Regions from separate parts of the Homo sapiens genome. Here region 1 is linked to region 2. The links are contacts of gene promoters, found by promoter capture Hi-C in blood cells and fetal thymus (Javierre and others, 2016). All regions are on one chromosome and are shown on one strand. Each heading gives the region's core, a stretch centred on a gene start or on the middle of the fragment in contact. The rest is flanking DNA. Distances are from core to core; before and after follow the strand shown. Region 1 overlaps SAMD4A (sterile alpha motif domain containing 4A). Region 2 holds the start of CGRRF1 (cell growth regulator with ring finger domain 1).

Evidence for each region. Contacts are between HindIII fragments. The CHiCAGO score rates a contact against its expected background, and 5 or more counts as called.
Region 1: a contact is called between a fragment that was not itself captured here and the fragment with the promoter of CGRRF1 in region 2, in 12 of 17 cell types (M1 macrophages, M0 macrophages, naive CD4 T cells and 9 more). The highest score is 7.4, in M1 macrophages.

What each region holds. Positions count from the first base shown.
Region 1 is chr14:54,775,813-54,780,350 of GRCh38, forward strand. SAMD4A (sterile alpha motif domain containing 4A) reads left to right here. Exons shown (of 13, transcript NM_015589.6): 11 at 602-728. Among named protein-coding and RNA genes, the nearest start is that of SAMD4A-AS1, 90 kb to the left of the region's middle. The HindIII fragment of the contact is 2,323 bases long and covers 1,541-3,863 here.
Region 2 is chr14:54,506,981-54,511,902 of GRCh38, forward strand. CGRRF1 (cell growth regulator with ring finger domain 1) reads left to right here and starts at 2,926. Exons shown (of 6, transcript NM_006568.3): 1 at 2,926-3,083. The coding sequence starts at 2,980. RefSeq lists silencers at 2,587-3,016, 2,816-3,001 and an enhancer at 3,177-3,406. The HindIII fragment of the contact is 20,688 bases long and covers 2,132-4,922 here.

The DNA.
Region 1 (4,538 bases), core at 1,452-3,951, 270 kb after region 2:
CAGGAAAAGGGCTTCAGGCAAGACGGGCAGGATTCACTACCCAGGGTACCAGAAAGCCCCATCTTCTGACCATTGTCCCCAGCCCCCAGATCAGTTCAAGAAGACGTCACTGCTGGGACACACAGGCTGAGTTGTGCCAGCTCATTGCCAGCTGAGAGTTTCTTTTCTCTCCCCCTCGCTTTGGAGTACATTGTAAGAATCTTAAAAAAAAAAAAAAAAAAAAAAAAAAATCAGAGCCCTGAAATAGTTTGTGCTCTTCGTTGCATACATTTATAGAACTCCCCCATTTCCTAGAAAAGTGGCAGGGAAAAAGCAAAAGCAACAAATGCGATAAAAAGAGTTCTGCAGATAGGGAAAGAGGTGTCCAGATGAAGCTGAGGCTTACAGCAAGGCCACCACTGAGGAGGTGAAGAGAAATTACAGTGAATGGAATCTAAACCCTCTCTCTATAAATAAGCAGATGCTAGCACTGGCCTGCAAGCCCCTTTTCTAGAAGTTAGAGTTCTCCTGGGATCTTTGCCTCCCAAATTCTTGCTGGCGGCTCTGCTCTCCACCCCAGTGGGGCTGAACTAACAAGTTCCCCTTTTGCTTTTCTCACCAGAACCTGTGGTTTGCCAACCCCGGGGGCAGCAATAGCATGCCAAGCCGCACCCACAGCTCAGTCCAGAGGACCCGCTCGCTGCCCGTGCACACTTCCCCACAGAACATGCTGATGTTCCAGCAGCCAGGTAGGGCCCGGCGCTTCATGTCCCCTTGACACAGAGGGGAGGCCAAAATAGATGCCCTAGCAAACCCAGCCAGAAAGTGCTTAGCCTCGACTGTCACCGTGCATTCTTTGGAGCTTATAGAAGCCTTTCCTTTTTTAAACTGTGCCTTGCCAGCATGAATAGCGGCGGCTTGGCTGAGAGCCAGCATGTGGAGCCCCAGAGTTGGTTGCAATCGGATGGGGATATTTTTGATACTAGTCATATTTCTAGATTGATTAAACCAGAGATAGCACAAGAGGGCTTTGGTGGTGGGGAGGTGGGAGGGCTCCATGTGTAGTGTGTGTGTGTGTGTGTGTGTGTGTGGAAAGAGAAAGTGAGAGTGAGACAGAGAAAGAGAAAACTGTTGATGCTGAGACCTTCCCCCTGGTTTGGGCTTTTCTTGCAAAGTGATGACTGTTGTACCAGCCATCTTTCCTTTACTTGGTTAAAGAGCAACTTAGCACACTTCAGATCAATTTCAGCTTTCACTATGCTTCCTAAAACAGAGTGGTTGGAATTATGCACAGCTAATGAATACTTGAACCCTTTCTCTATGCAGGCAGTGATCTTGTAGACTTTGTAGACTCCATGAGTAATAACAAGCCACACAGGCAATTACACTGCACCTATCTGGATGGACCCCCCCCCACCCCCACTGCCCCAAGGCAGGCAAACTGGAGATGTGTTGTACCTGTAGGAAAATGCCCTGGACAGTAGAAACGCTCTGTCCAGTAAGTCCTATCTGTAGGAGTTTAAAGAAGAGAAGTGTTACTGTGGCCTGGAATAGGCAAGGAAGCTTCCTGGAGTTGGAGCTGAGCTTCAGGGCACAGCAGAGGGTGGAGAGAGGGAAGGCAGAGTTACAGGCAGAAGGAACCCAGGAGCAAGACTGCAAAGGTCCAGAATACCACAGCATGGCCCGGAAGCCGTGGCTGGGCCAAAGGGTCTGGCTGAGGTAGCAGAAAGTGGACCCAGGGAGCTGTAAAGGTCGTGGCCGATGGTGGGGGACTTTGAATCCAAAGCTGAGGAGCTTGGACTCTGGCCACTCTCCCTGGGGGGATTCCTCCACATGGGGGATTCCGAGTAGAAGTCAGGCAGGAGGGTGCAGGATGATGGGGTGGGGGGGTAGGCTGGAATTGGGAGGTCAGGGAGGAGGAGGACGCTGGAGGACACACTGCTGGGAACGGCATGTCAGGGAGGGGAGCGACAGCTACCCAGTGCAGAGGCCTGCTCACATTGCTTCTTGACTTCCAAAACTCTGCTCACTTTTGTTTTAAAGCTCCTTTTCTCTATATTTATGCACCAAAATATAACAATATAATTACACATATTTCTATATGCTTAGCTATTTTTCTTCCTGGGAAGAAACATGATAAAATTTGGGGGTTCTGAAGGCTTTATCCCAGGGTCCTTTCATCCCATCCTCTGTTTTCACGCAGAATTATGTATAATCCATTCCCAATAAAAAAGAATCTGGACAAGATTTGAAGAGGTCCTGCGCACAAGGAGATCTGTCACCTTGAATGGGTCTTTCACCCTGGCCTCAGTCTCACCAGCAGAGTGACCACTGTCTTCAATTCTGTATACCTTCTCAAGGCCTTCTTGATTTTTTCCCTTCCTGCCACTCTTTTGCCAGTTCTCAGCCTTCCTCTTTGTTCATACTGAATCTTCCCTGAGCTTTCTCCATCTTAACTGGGAAGACTAGGTCCAGACAGTCCCCTTTCTAAAAGCTGGGTTGTCCCGGAGCGCTTCGGGTTTGTTGATAGAATCTTCCACCTATACCTTTGTTTCCCCTCCACTATCTCACAGCAATGCCAAGTGGCTGGCTTGTGCTCAGGGCAACTATGAACCTAATATCATTTTCACTCTTCATGCAAACCCTCTTGTTCCTGTGGTTAAAGAATCAAATAATACAGAAGTGCTGTGAGCAAAAAGTGACTGTCTCTCTCCCCTCCCCTTCCTAGCCCACAGGCACAACCCCTTTTAGCAGTCTGTAGTTACCTGCAAGTCTCTAAATAATATGCTTCGCACACTGGACTTAAAACTCTGGAACGCTTTGAGTGTTTTTTTTAAAATCTCTCAAGTATTACAAACCCACTTCCAGCAAGGTCTTAAAGATCCTCACATGGCATTTTTAATAACAGCCAAAGCACAGGAAAAAGCCCGCTCTAAATTTCCTGATTGCAAATAAACCATTGAACGCTGGACAGGAGCCACTCCTAAGTCCTGCCCAGCACGCTCAGCACCATGCTGGGTGGCTCTTCCAGGACATGCATAAAGGGCATGATAGGGCAGGGCCTGGCCAGGACCCAGGATCCCTCACTGAAGGGGAAGGAGGCTGCAGAAGGCCCCTGCTTAAGGGCACAGGGTTGAGGTTCCTCAGCCCTTGCCAATCATTGTCAAGGCCACAGGTCACTGTAGTGACTTTTCCTTCCTCCCAAGGAGGCAGCCTCCTACCCAGGGACGACACCTCTGACCTCCAAGCAGGTCCAGACGAAGGCTCATCCTAGAGTCATAGAGTCAGGGTCCTCATCCTGGATTCAGAGCCGCTTCTGCTCTTCCTGGATTCAGAGCCTCTTCTGCAGATGGGCCTTTCCACACAAAGCAGTGCAATCTGGTTCGCTATGGAGACTTCCCGGGGCTTGTGGCCAGGCGTTAAAACTAGACTACAAATATCATGTCAGGACAGCAAAAATCAGGAAGTCAGAAAGTGGCTTTCATCTGTACATGAACAGGAGTAATAGTGAACACAAAATGAAATTGAGATGTGTAACTAACCCAAAAGTAGATACTCGGAAAACTGTTATCATACAATGCAGTGTTTTCCTCCTGGCTGTTAGATGTCTTCAGAGAATCCATTGTAAACTGGGCAAATCTTGAAGACTACAATGCATTTGAAGGATGCTTTCATTCTGTAAACCTAAAATAACTCTACTGATGGGAGACTTTAAACGTCTCATACAGAGAAGACAGAGGGCTAGAACCCACCAAGTTGCGGATCAATTCATCAGTCACCTTGCTCGGGTTTACAGGACTCATCCCTCGTTCCTGGTTCTACACAATTCACGGGCACTTGGAGGCCCCTCAGGAGTGGTGTTTCATGTTATTCCCACATGGACAAGCTTTTTTTTTTTTTTTTTTTCGAGACGGAGTCTCACTCTGTCACCCAGGCTGGAGTACAGTGGCGCAATCTCAGCTCACTGCAACCTCCACCTTCACATGGACAAGTTTTAGCTGTTTCCTGGGACCAGCCAGGAGACCCTTCAGGTGGCTATTGCCAGTGATGAGTAAGAAACACTACGAGGTGTAATACGCTCACCAGAAAACAAGTGTGGCGCCTGTGCGAATGGTCACGTTCCTCATGGAGGCAGGGCGTTTTCTCAACTAGATAACTGGTTTGGAAATTGCTTGGAGAGGGATCCTTTATTTTGGAAGCAACTAATTTCTACTGACCCAGGCTTAGTTGTCCTTGGGATCCAGTCAGAGAGGATCTTGGAGTGGCCCTGGCTCAACAGTAGGAGATCATGGAGGTTCTTTACCCCCTGGAGGGCCTAACAGAAAAGGGCAGGGAACCCCATAGCAGGCTTCAAAGGAAAACCTTCAGAAGGGTAGGCTGCACAGCCTTCTGAAAATCTCATTCTTCCCTTGCCCAAAGCCACATGCAAACTACCCTTGGTTGTGAACCAGCTGGATGTGAGCTGGGTCCAGTGGCACCTCACATGGCAGCATTTCATGGTGTGACTTACCTGATCACCACAGCAAACCTCCTCTAAGTACCAGCTCACAATTGGGATT
Region 2 (4,922 bases), core at 1,676-4,175:
AGCAGTCTGGTGAGCTAGTGGAGCTAAGGAGCCATAGCTTATGAGGGTTTTACAACCAGAGGTAAATGGCTGGAACCCTGGATCTCCGCAGTGAGGGCTGGCCTGGTACCACAAAAAGCCAGATGAAACCCGCTTCCCCTTAGTGAGGACCTACAGGTGTCATGCAGAGCTGAGGTCTCATTTTCCTGACCTCCACCATCAGGTCATATGAACACCTTGTACAATCAGATACTGTCTTGGGAAGAATCAAGAGAAGAGAGAGGAGAGACTAAACATTTTCCTAAAGGAGACCAGCTTCCTAAAAGGTGCAATTAAACTTGAAGAGTCTAAGATACTTTTTTTTTTTTTTTTTTTTTGCCGGAATCTTATTCTGTCGCCCAGGCTGGAGTGCAGTGACACAATTTCAGCCCACTGCAACCTCCACCTCCCGGGTTCAAGCAATTCTCCTGCCTCAGCCTCCTGAGTAGCTGGGATTACAGGTGCCCGCCATCATGCTGGGCTAATTTTTGTATTTTTAGTAGAGATGGGGTTTTGCCATGTTGGCCAGGCTGGTCTCAAACTCCTGACCTCAGTTATCTGCCCACCTCAGCCTCTCAAAGTGCTGGGATTACAGACGTGAGCCACCATGCCCGGCCTAAGATACTTTTTATTGATAAATTTAAGCTCACATTGTCTTCTCTTTTTACCCCGTCTAATAGTAGGGTGGGGCTTCTTTCTTTTTCTTCTTTTTTGAGACAGGTTCTTGCTTTGCTTTTTTTTTTTTTTTTTTTGAGACAGCGTCTTGCTGTGTCACCCAGGCTGGAGTGTAGCGGCACAATCGTGGCTCACTGCAGCCTCAACCTCCCTTGCTCAAGCAATCCTTCTGCCTCGCCCAGTTAATTTTTTAATTTTTTGTAGAGACAGGGTCCCACTATGTCGCTGACGCTGGTCTCAATTCCTGGGCTCAAGCCATCTCCCTGCCTTGGTCTCCCAAAGTGCTGGCCTTGGTCTTCCAAAGTGCTGGCATTACAGGCATGAGCCACCATGCTGGGTCTAGGGTGGGGTTTCAAGCTAAACTAGATCAGTTATAGATAATAAAGAACAGTCATTCTTCCTGTTCATCTGAGAGTCAAACTTTTTTTTAAAAAACTCTAATATAGATACTTTGTGCTTCCAAGTAATCTCATGGAGAAAAGCTTATTTCATTTATTTATTAATTCAGTAATATGACTACCCGACATATACTAGGTACCGGTGGCACAAACATCAATTATGTGTCATTCCTGTGCTCAGAGAGCTGGGTTCCTAGCAGGCTAAATACACTAGTGAGCAGGTGCTCACACCAGAAATAAGAGGGCTCCCATACAGTTACATACTGGGTGCTTTGGGAGAGGCATCTCCCCAAGGGTTTGGAAGCATCCAGGAAGGCTTGCTGGAGAAGGGAGCCTTTCAGATTGGCCAATATTTTTGTTAAGTGACAATATCAAATGATGGCAAAACTGTGGATGAAAAACTGGGAATACAAATTGGTACATTTCTGGAGAGCAGTGTTTTTACAAAATCTTTAAAATGTACATTTTTTAAAACCATAGTTCCACCTCTAGTAATTTATCCTAAGGAAATACTTTAGCTGTAGGGATGTTCATTGCAGTGTTATTTATAGCAATGAAAAATTCTCCAACAGTTGAGGGCTGATTAAAGTATATATTTTCACAAATCAGATATATAGTAATTAAAAATTGTGTTGTAGAAGCAAGCTTCTCAAACAGTGCTGCTCCAGAGACTACGTGCTCATTTGCCAAGGAATATGTGAGGCCATAGGACAAACTTAGTTCATCTTTCTCAACACGAATTTTACTGGTGATTTAGGAGTGTGACAGAGGCTACTAGTTAACTATCCCAATGTCCATTCTCTTTCCTCCTCAGTAACAAAACTCTTGATTTGTACCAGGGTGTGTTGCTGCTCACGAATAATAAGACTACATATCCCCATTCTCTGATGTGGCTAGATGTGGCTTTAGGAGTAAATGCAAACCAACGAGGTGTCAATGAACTGTTATGAAAGACTTTCAGGGAGGCCACCTTGATGGAGCTGACTCACAGGGTTGAGACAAGGGAGTGACCATTTAGCTACTTTCAGTAATTTTTAAAAAGCTTCTGTGTGATTTAAAAAGTTTTTTAAAAATTATTCTTAAAGTGGAAACAAATACAGTTTCAAATGTTTGGCTAATTCTAATTTGAGGAGTACAAGAAGAGGAGAAAAGGAGGGGGATGTGGGAGGAAGCGGATGCTTTATTTCTAAGAGAATCTTGGATAAGCAATGCTGATTTTCCTCTATGATTAAGTCCAATCTGAAAAGGCTGACAAGTCTCGTATAAATTGCTTGTGGTAGAGACTCCTTTTTTTGTGTTTTCACTGTGCTTATGGTTATTTCATTTTGTAGAATCCAAGATGCCCGCCCTCCTCCTCCTCCTCCTCCACCCTCTCCCAAATTTGCCTAAGATATAATAGGCAGGGTTTCAGGATTTAGAAACGATGCACGTAGATTTCAGACTGCGCCTCTCTCTGACATCAGAAAACCTACATTGCCTAAGGCTGGCACAGAGTTGGCCCCAAAGTCTACTTAGAATTTGCCGGCGGAACAGCAATGACCACTGGGCCACAGCGCTTAAGACGCCCGCTGGGTACCAATCCTGGGAGTCGGGGGCGGTGCGAGTCGGGCCCCCCCCATCCCAGGTCTGCGTAGCCAATAGCTCGGGACGGGAGCGGGAGGGGCGTGGCGTGTCCGGCAGGGGGCGCCGTGATTGGCACGCCAGCTCCCGCTGTCCGCGAGGCTGCCCTAAAGTCTAGCTCATGAGAACCCCAGGCAAGTGCGGACCTACAAAGTTTGTCCGCTCCGGGGCACTGTAGTGGCTTTTACCCTGGCCGGGCGGGCGGGGCTCAGCCGGGCTGGGCTGGGCTCCGCGGCTGGAGCCGGGCTCTACCCAGAGCAAGACCCTGATGGCTGCGGTGTTTCTGGTAACGCTTTATGAATACTCGCCGCTTTTCTACATCGCGGTGGTCTTTACCTGCTTCATCGTGACCACCGGCCTGGTATTGGGATGGTAAGTGTCCCAGGGGTGAGAGACGAAGGGGCGGATACCGCCAGAGTGGGGTCGCGACGAGCAGCAGGGGGCACCGGAGCCGGAGGGCCGCGGGCCGGAGGACGTCGGGGATTCGGTGTCCCCGGGTGCCTAGAACTCCGACTTTCTCTGGGAGGAAAACAAGGTGGACGCTGCACCTGCGTCACTGCCCTGCATCACCGTTTGGTCCGTGTCGCTGGGGCATCTTGGGGTGGTACCGCATTGGGGTGTTTTACTCAGCTTTGTTTCTAGGCGATAAAGCAGCCAGGAAGGGCTTGGGCTTGGGCTTGGTGTTGGGAGAAAGTGCTTCTCTAGTAGGCTTCTGTCCCGGATTCGGGCCTACTGTGTGTCCTGGATGAGTTAGTCACCTGTGCTACAGTGCACAGACTGGACAGTAAGCGAGGTTAACAGTTGTGATTCTGACCTGAATGGAGCCCTTAGCCTCAGATCTTTCAGAGTAACTTGTAACTGAACTGTTACCGTTTGAGAATTTAATGGTTTCTGTATACATTCCACACCTTTTGAAGTAATATTTAGTCGATAGAATTGTAAAATCATAATTTTAGAGCTGGAAGAGACCTTAGAAATATGTAACACCGAGGGTAGGACAGTTGCCTATTGGAGACAAGGAGAATGGTCTGTTAGATAACCGCTGAGCAATTCTTCTAGCCTAGAGGTTCAATTTCTCTCTTGAGGAGATGCTATTGTATCATGTTTAGACAAGCCTTGTAAATAACGAGTTGAAACCGTGTAACTAGCCCACAACAGTTTTTCTAGGCTGCAGCCTCCAAAATCCCTTTGAGATGATAATAGTTACAAAAAGATCAAACAGCAGTTCTAAGTGGATAACAGCCATGGTCTGAAGAGGTCAGAGGGGACTCTGTTGAAGAGGGACATGAGCTGGATTTTGGAGAATGAGCATTTTGAAAAATAAATGGAGTTAAATGTATATAGTAGGGAAGAAAAAGCATCTCAGAGAAGACAGCATGAGCATAGGGGCAGAGAACATGTTAGTGAATAAAGAAGGCTACGTAAAACGAGTTTTAAAATAGCCTTTGGTCACATATATGTGATTGCCTTAAAGAACACGGGCCCTTGTCGGTTTCTGAAAATATATGCCATCTTTAGGAAGTGACAAAAGTTTTAACCTGTCCACACTGCTCCTCACCCTACCAGCAATAGAGCATAGAATTCCTTGCCTTGTATGTGGGTGAGGATTGGAAATACAAATTCCTTATTTGTGGGGGTAAGATTGGAAAACAAAGACCAATCTTACACAATTGGTTATTCTTGACCCATCAGATTTTATTGCTAATGTTCATTACACAAAAGTTTGTAATTGGAATGAGGAAGGTGTTGCCCATGTGAGAAAAGCAGTCTTAACACAAGATTTTTAAATGACTATAATGTTAGTGTTATTCTCTTAATGAAGCATAATTTTCCTCCACTAAGGAAAATAGTAACTAGTTGATAATTGCCTTATGTGCTTTAATTTTTATTTTAAATAGGCCAACTAATTAGATATCTTAGATATCAATCTTTAGTATTGGGAAGAGGGTAGTCAGGAGCCTCATGTTTGTAGTGGTTAACAGACAGACTTTGGAGTCAGTCAGACATAGGTTCAAATCCTGGCTCTGCCAGCTTTAAGACTTGGTTTGAAAATTTAATAATTGCCAAATCACCCCATTTAGGTAAGACTTTTTACAAGAGTGGAAGCCCATGTAATTATAGAACGTTTGGAAGTCTGGGCTAAGCACTGCTGAGGCCACAAGACCATGTAAATCCAGTCACTTCCATCCTAATTTAGGCCTAACCAGTCAT